Linked DNA regions of Homo sapiens: region 1 is linked to region 2. Evidence: promoter capture Hi-C in 16 types of primary human blood cells and fetal thymus (Javierre and others, 2016). All regions are on one chromosome and are shown on one strand. The core of a region is centred on a gene start or on the middle of the fragment in contact, and the rest is flanking DNA. Distances in the headings are between cores, read along the strand shown.

Region 1 (4,119 bases), core at 1,229-3,728, 190 kb before region 2:
AAATAAACAAAATGATAATATTGATGTTTCAGAGTTTATTTCATAAAAATTTGTGTTTAGTACTGGTCTTATTTATTTATTTATTTATTTATTTATTTATTTATTTATTTGAGACACAGTCTTGCTCTGTCACCCAGGCTGAAGTGCAGGGGCATGATCTCGGCTCATTGCAACCTCTGCCTCCCAGGTTCAAGTGATTCTCCTGCCTCTGTCTCCCGAGTAGCTGGGACTACAGGCATCCACCATGACACCCAGCTAATTTTTGAAGTTTTAGTAGAGATGGGGTTTCACAATGTTGGACACACTGGTCTTGAACTCCTGGCCTCAAGTGATCTGCCCATCTTGGCCTCCCAAAGTGCTAGGATTACAGGCATGCACCTTTGCGCCCTGTCCTGGTCTTTTACTTTTAAAAACACTTTCAGGGTTTATAACATTAAAAAAAATCACTGAAATTCAGTAGTTAATGCATTGCAAATAAAAAATATGAGTGCATTATAGAATATCAAATTTACAAACATTTGTTAAATATGTATTATCTTTCTCAATAATTTGTTAAATGTGTATTATCTATCTTTCTACATTTGTTAAATATGTAATATATTTCTTAAAATTACTTGTTAAAAGGTATTATTAAAATAAGAAAAGTATAACATGAAGAAAATGGAATCAGTTATAAAAAATTAAAATAAAATAATATTGTTAGATTATTTTTAAATGCTTATTTTAAAAAACAAATCAATTCAAAGATTTTATTCCTGAGTCATGAAAACTGATAAACTTTCCAGTGCTGAAACAGCTCTTTCTGATTCTATACCAGTTTGGGAACAATTGAGGAGATAGCTATAAGCTGACTCCAGATAGTTTCCTCTGATACTCTGAGCTTAAAATAACACCACTATTTATTTCATAACTTTGAAGACATCTCTATTTATTTATTTTAGTTGAGACTGGGTCTTGCTATGTTGCTGAAGCTGGTCTCAAATTGCTATCTGTGATTACAGGCATAAGCCACCATGCCTGGCACAGGTATCTTTTAAATTAACCTATCCCAGCTGGGATTGCAATTTTTTCACTGTAGTTTTGCTTTCAAAGAAAGTACTTTATGTTCACTTTCGTAGTCTTTAGTTCATCTACAGATGAATATTTAGTACATCGAGTTTTCTGTATTAATTTCAATACTACCATGTTCATGCTTTACATTTTTGGAAAATCTTCTAATCTGCTATCATAATTCAATAAAGTGTCTCCACTAATTGTGTAAGTTTAGTTATGATAAATAATAACAAAGTGCTGACTTATCTTAGTAATTTACATTTTAACATTCATTTCAGATTCTAGTTTTTTGTTTTGTTTTGTTTTGTTTTTATAAAGTCACTCTCACTCCTTTCTAGTATGTTTTCTTAGAGAGAAAGAGGTAGAACGACAGCTGGTGCCCTGTGCAGTTCAAAGACATGTGCACATGTCCCACCACTTGGGACAACAGAAAATAGGTTGAAAATGAATAAGCTTACTTAGATCTCATTGGGAAACTATCTTTGGTCACCAGCGGTTTCTGGGACCCATTTCTTGAGTTAGTGCTTAAGTTCCGAGGGGCTTCATTTTAGTTTTTGGATTGTGATGTGCCTCAAACCCCATCAAGTGACTGGATTTTCTAGAAAATGAGTAATGGTAGAGCAAACAGATTCAAAGTCATTAATTTAATTTGGATATGACAAAATACCCTGGGAGCAAATGAAAATTAACATAAATGTCTCAATTTCTACCAGTTATGCAATGTTCTAACATCTTCAAGCTGAAAGCACTCTGAAGTCAGCACAAACTGACAGGTGTAGGACTTTCCAAAATGTGTAAAGCATTTCCCCCTGGAGGAAGGATGGATCAAATTCTACCCCTTGCTTGATCAGATTCATCAACTTGCATATTTGTACAAGAGGGAGTCCAATCTGCCTAATCATTTCTGTTTGCCAATGTTTTGGAAAGTTGGGAAATAATTTTGGTTTTGAAAAATTTTAACACAAATCCTCAATGATGCTTTACCAGGCAATGACTGAATTCCTACATCTGGATTATATTATCCCATTTGGGATTAGACTAATGATTAAAATGGTCCTGGCAGCAAGGTAATTAGATGGGTTCCCACACTGAGGCAAACTCATAGCAAAGGCCCTTGGGTCATGACTCTTTGGGGGAAATTCTGCCTAGTCTTATAGCCCTGTCTAGTTCTGCACATATCCGTATCTAGGTGTCTGGGACAGACTCACTGAAGTAAATAAGAGTGAAAACACAAGGACAGTGCCTGGCCCGTCAGTGACTTCCTAATAAATGTCACTTCCTTCCTCACCCGTCTCCCTTGCTCCCTTCCTCTTTCTTTTTCTATTCCTCCCCTCCCTCCCTCCTTTGCTCTCTCCCTTCCTCCATTCCTCTCTCCCTCCCTCCTCCCTTCTCTTCCTCCCTGTCTTTCTTCCTTCCATGTCAAGGGACAAATTACAAGCTGCCTGCTGCTAGTCAATTTTACAGATGAAATCCTCAAAAAGGCAAAACTTACATTCTACATTTAAGGACATTAACCAAGGAATGAAGCCTTTGTTTTTACCTATAAAAACTTTTACTTTGGATAAAAGAGTGTGTTATACTTGCTCTGTACTTGAACAAAAAGTAGTGCCAATAAAGTAAGGATAAGAAATGAATCTTGTGCCAACCCCTTTAACCCTATAAAAGCATCTCAGTGAGGCAGATGCCCAAATTATCACCCTCCAAACACTCACCTCCAAATGAAGGTATCTGCAGACCACCGAGTGGCAGAGAAAATTGCCTTTGTGCTCTGGAATCTCATTGTCTGCTGGCTGCTACCAGTTCCCTTATGTACTTCTAGAGAATGAGATATCCTAACCAATGTGGAGTGAAATTCCATCTTGCAGAGGTAACAGGTCCTTCCTGTTGGTGTTTCCCTAATTGAGCATGTAGTTTTTTCATTTAACGGTGATGATTGTGTGCTATCTTTCTAGCATATTTGAAAGCCTTTTATCAACTTCCTTTGAGATCAACACAGAGGAGAGGAGAAACTCCAAGCTCCTGCAGAACAGACCCCAGCATATGGCAGGCCTTCTTTGGTCTAGAATCAAATGGCCAACTGGATGCTGAAACTTTAGCCCTGGTGACGCAGCCAAAGTGTGAAACTCCTGACGCAGTGGAGTATAATTTTTTTCCCTAAGAAAATGAAGCAGCTAACTGGTATCCTGACACACAGGTGAACGTGTCGCTCATAATTTTTTCTCTATGCAATGTGTAATGTTGCTATAGCTGGCAGGGTTCACTTTTGCAGATCACATCTTTACGTGTTAAGAAGTAGTTTGGGATAATACAGAGTATTCTGGGCTATCCTAGCCAGGTGGCTAAGGCTCTAATTCCAGCACCAAGTTTATCACTTTGTGCAATTTTAAGGAAGCTTCTCAATGTCTTTGAACTGTTTTTCAATGTAATATAAAGGAATTAAGCTTGATGATCTCTGGAGGTGTTTGGAGGATCTACAAGTCTATATCATCCTCAAATCACTTCTGCGTATTCCATATCAGGCTTTATCTCTCTTACTTGAATCCTCAGTTACTAAGTCATTTCTAGGTGGCTTAAAATACCCTTTAAATTTCTTTGTATCCTCTTTTATTTCACTGAGCAGTGGTTTGGTTTGTAGTTCTCCTTGAAGAGGTCCTTCACATCCCTTGTAAGTTGGATTCCTAGAAATTTTATTCTCTTTGAAGCAATTGTGAATGGGAGTTCACTCATGATTTGGCTCTCTCTTTGTCTGTTATTGGTATATAAGAATGCTTGTGATTTTTGCACATTGATTTTGTATCCTGAGACTTTGCTGAAGTTGCCTATCAGCTTAAGGAGATTTTTGGCTGAGACGATGGGGTTTTCTAGATATACAATCATGTCATCTGCAAACAGGGACAATTTGACTTCCTCTTTTCCTAATTGAATACCCTTTATTTCCTTCTCCTGCCTGATTGCCCTGGCCAGAACTTCCAACACTATGTTGAATAGGAGTGGTGAGAGAGGGCATCCCTGTCTTGTGCCAGTTTTCAAAGGGAATGCTTCCAGTTTTTGTCCATTCAGTATGAT
Region 2 (4,512 bases), core at 2,013-4,512:
GGATGTGTCAACACTAATAAAGTTATGACTCAAGCGAAAATGGGCATCTCACAGCTTGTCAAATCAGGGCCTAGGGGCATTGTCACAGATTTGTCAGGCCAACAAGCTTTGTCTGTTAAAGGTGTTGGAGTGAAATAAGAAGAGATTTGTTCCCCAGCATAAAGCATACAAAATAACTTTGTGAGTGTGGTTATATCCACCCCATTTTACAGATGACAAAATAATGGCCTGAATTAATTACACACAGTCATGTGTGACTTAACAATGGGGACACATTCTAAGAAACATGTCCTTAGGCAATTTATCCATTGTGCAAACACCATGGATTAAACTTACACAAACCTCTATGGTACAGCCTACTACATGCCTAGACTATGTGGTATAGCCTTTTAAAAATTTCTTGGGGAAAGTTATCCTCCCATCTCAGCCTTCCAAGTAGCTGAGAGTAGAGGTGTCAGCCACCATGCCCAGCAAGCCTATTACTCCTAGGCTACAAACCTATACAGCATGAAATTCTACTGAATACTGGAGGCAATTGTAACATAATAATAAATATTACTGTATCTACACATATTTTAACATTAAAAAATACAATAAAAAGATGGTATTAAAGATAAAAAATGGTACAACTATATAGGGCACTAACCAGGAATGAAGCTTGCCAGACTGGAAGTTGCTCTAAGTGAGTCAGTGAGTGAGTGGTGAGTGAATCTGTACACTATGTAGACTTTATGAACATTGTATGCCTAGACTACACTAAATTTATAAAAGCATTTTTCTTTCATCAATATAAATTAACCTTAGCTTACTGTAGTAACTTTTTTACTTTATAAACTTTTTAATTTAAAACTTTTTTTGACTCTTTTGTAATAACACTTAGGTTAAACACAAACGTTTCACAGAGGTACAAAAATATTTTTTTCTTGATATCCTTATCCTATAAGCTTTCTACTATCTTTAATTTTTTTTATTTTTTAAACTATTTTTTGAGAATGAAGACACAAAACACGAATTAGCCCAGGCCTACACAGGATCAGGATCATCAATATCACTGTTTTCTACCTTCACATCAAGTTCCACTAGAAGGTCTTTCAGGGCAGTAACGCTGATGCAGCTGTCGTTTCCTATGATAATAATGCCTGCATAGGGCAGTAACCATGGAATGCCTTCTGAAGGACCTGCCTGAAGCAGTTTTACAGTTAACTTTTAAAAAAAAGGTACACTCTAAAATAAATGATAAAATGTATAGTAAATGCATAAACAGTCATTTATCACTATTATCAAGAATTATGTACTGTACACAATTGCATGTGCTAGACTTTCGTATGGCAGCACAGTAGGTTTGCTTACACCAGCATCATCACAAACACATGGGTAATGTATTGTACTATGACATTATGTTGGCTACAATGACAATAGCTGATGGGTGCTTATCAGCTCTGTATTAGTTTGTTCTTGCATTGCTATCAAAAATACCTGAGACTGGGTAACTTATAAAGAAAAGAGATTTAATTGGTTCACGGTTCTGCAGGCTATATGAGAACCATGGTGGCACCTTCTTCTGGGGAGGCCTCAGGAAACTTACAATCATGGCGGAAGGCAAAAGAGGAGCCTGCACTTTACATGGCCAGAGCAGGAGAAGAAAGAGAGGGGCTAGGTGCTACACACTTTTAAACATCCAGATCTCATGATAACTCACTCACTCACTATGACAAGAACATCACCGATGGGATGGTGCTAAATGGGCATGAGAAATCCGCCCCCGTGATCCAATCACCTCCCACCAGGCTTCACCTCCAACACTGGGAATGACAGTTCGACATGAGATTTGGGCAGGGACACAGATCCAAACCATATCAAGCTCCATTATAATCATATGGGACCACCATCATATATGTGGTCCATTGTTGACTGAAACATTATACAGTGCCTGACTGTACTTGCTCAATGTCCAGCTGACTTTATTTGAGTCTAGTTGTCAGTCCTTCTCCCTCTGATATTCAAGCTGATGTCACCACACTGTAGAGCAAACTCTTTGGCAACAGTAAGTCACAAGTTGACTTGGCTGGCTCAGTGTATATCCCAGTTTCTCTCCAACTCTGGCTTGGAAGTCTCAGAGCCTCTTGGTTCCTGGAAGTCTCACCTGTCCAGGCTACCTTAAGTAGGGTGGGGATGGTGGGCGATACTGAAAAGATCATTCCTACACACTTATTATTTTAATCTCTCATCACTTTGCAATTATGTACTTCAGACATGGTAGAGTTAATTTATCTTTAGTGAGAGAAAAATATAGTTCTTTACTATAAGAATTTCAGGGTTCTTTATATTAACAGGTTAATTTGACAAAACAGTTATTGCAGACTTACTGTGTTACTGCGTAAAAAGCACTTTATTTGGCTGAGAAAACAAGAAAGAAAATACTATTTGTGGGCAGGGGTGGATCGTTAGACATGTGAAAGAAAGGGAGGATTTGAAATCATTTCCCATTACAGATCTCAATCCATCTCCTCCTTTGTACCTTAAGAGGAGAAAGAAAGGGGGAAAAGAATTTTTAAAAGCAAAGAAGAGGAAGAGGGTAGGAGGACCATTTCAGTCTAACATGCAATTTAATTTTTTCCATTTAACAAGTTTTATGGAGCAGTTACTTTGAACATAATTATACACTGGGAAATGGAGAATGAGTGAACACCAAAGCTTCTCTCTTTGGATTCTTTTCTCTACATGCTCCATGTCCTTCTCACAATACCCCTACTCCACGGCCAGTAAATCCATCTGAAAATCAATAATAGCTATTGTAAACAAGGACTCAAGAAGTGAAATATTTGTTTTAATATCTTTGTAAATAACAACTCCCACATTTAGACCACGACTATATTTGGAATTTATTTCCGTTGACCTACTTAATTCTTACCTGCTTATATTTAAGTTTAAAACATAATCTTCTTAAAAGAAAATTGCACTGATTTTAAAATGTCAAAACATTTGGCATTTTACCAAGCTTGTCAGCTCTCTTTAAGTAAATACAGAGACGTGAATTATCTAGCCAATTCTTTTTCGTCTTTACAAACACAGAAATCATTTCCTGGGGATTAATCATTCTTTCAAGTTTAGAAAGTTGAAGGAAAATACTGATGTAGGCTGTATCACCATTACATTAAATGTTTGTGAACATTCAGACTTAAAAAACACATGCATGAATCATACTGTTGGTGATCTCAGCATTGTCTCTGTATAAAAGAAAGGCCACTAGGGGGTAGAGCTAGAAGCCCAGTAGACAAAGAAGGTAAGGGCAGTGAGAATGATGCATCTTGCATTCCTTGTGCTGTTGTGTCTGCCAGTCTGCTCTGCCTATCCTCTGAGTGGGGCAGCAAAAGAGGAGGACTCCAACAAGGATCTTGCCCAGGTAATTAACGGTGGCATCTATTGCAGCTACTGGCCAGCTCAATTGTGTCTACTTGGTCTTCCAATACAAAGCAGAATGATTAGACTAGAGATCACTTTGTTAGAAAACTGTAGCATCAGAGAATAATTAACAGGCTGGAGGTGGAAATTATTTTTATGTTAACAGAGAAGAAAAGAAAGGTTCAGAAAGGGAATATAACTGCTCAAGGTTACAATAAAATAGTAGCAGTATATTTGTGGCTAAGTGAAAAGAACATATGGAGAATATATGAAACTCCTCTGGCTTTAGAATTTATTTAGTTAAAATTATTGGGGAGGGGAGCATGCTAAGTTTGATCTTTAAATCATATCAGGTAATAGTTTTCATATTTTTACTTGTCATATTTGGACAAAAGAGTTTACCACACTTCAGTCTTAAACCAGGTCTATAATAACAATGTAAGTAGAAAAGGTTAGTATTCTAACTTTTCACAAAACTATGTTAAAAGAGGGTTTCTTTAAAAACTAACAAAAATAATGCTAGACTTGAATTTTCAATCCCCAATTCCTTACTTGACTAGCAAACTAACATTGCAATAAAATTTAAAAATTTGTATGAAATGGGGAGTCTTAATGAAAAATCAAATTAAATGTGATAGCCTCTTTTGTTTTAAGAAACTAGAGGAAAATTACGATGGATTATAAAAGTTGGATAAATGATGGAAAATCACAAAAATGCCCTAAAAATTCTATTTTCCATTAGCAATACCTAGAAAAGTACTACAACCTCGAAAAGGATGTGAAACAGTTTAGAAGAAAGGACAGTAATCTCATTGTTAAAAAAATCCAAGGAATGCAGAAGTTCCTTGGGTTGGAGGTGACAGGGAAGCTAGACACTGACACTCTGGAGGTGATGCGCAAGCCCAGGTGTGGAGTTCCTGACGTTGGTCACTTCAGCTCCTTTCCTGGCATGCCGAAGTGGAGGAAAACCCACCTTACATACAGGTAATGGTTCAGATTAGTTTTCACATAATATTGAAACCTTATAAGTTACTCGTCATATTTGGATAAGTAACATAAAGTTTTCTTTAACAATTTTTCATAAAGGCAGGAGAAAATAACATCCTCTTC

What was found. The method cuts DNA at HindIII sites, captures the fragments that hold promoters and counts their contacts. A CHiCAGO score of 5 or more calls a contact.
Region 1: a contact is called between a fragment that was not itself captured here and the fragment with the promoter of MMP10 in region 2, in 1 of 17 cell types (endothelial precursors). The highest score is 5.1, in endothelial precursors.

The regions. Positions count from the first base shown.
Region 1 is chr11:102,969,868-102,973,986 of GRCh38, reverse strand. No RefSeq gene overlaps it. Among named protein-coding and RNA genes, the nearest start is that of MMP13, 16 kb to the right of the region's middle. The HindIII fragment of the contact is 1,939 bases long and covers 1,509-3,447 here.
Region 2 is chr11:102,779,378-102,783,889 of GRCh38, reverse strand. MMP10 (matrix metallopeptidase 10) reads left to right here and starts at 3,262. Exons shown (of 10, transcript NM_002425.3): 1 at 3,262-3,403; 2 at 4,145-4,386. The coding sequence starts at 3,299. It also overlaps the pseudogene WTAPP1. The HindIII fragment of the contact is 1,913 bases long and covers 3,001-4,512 here.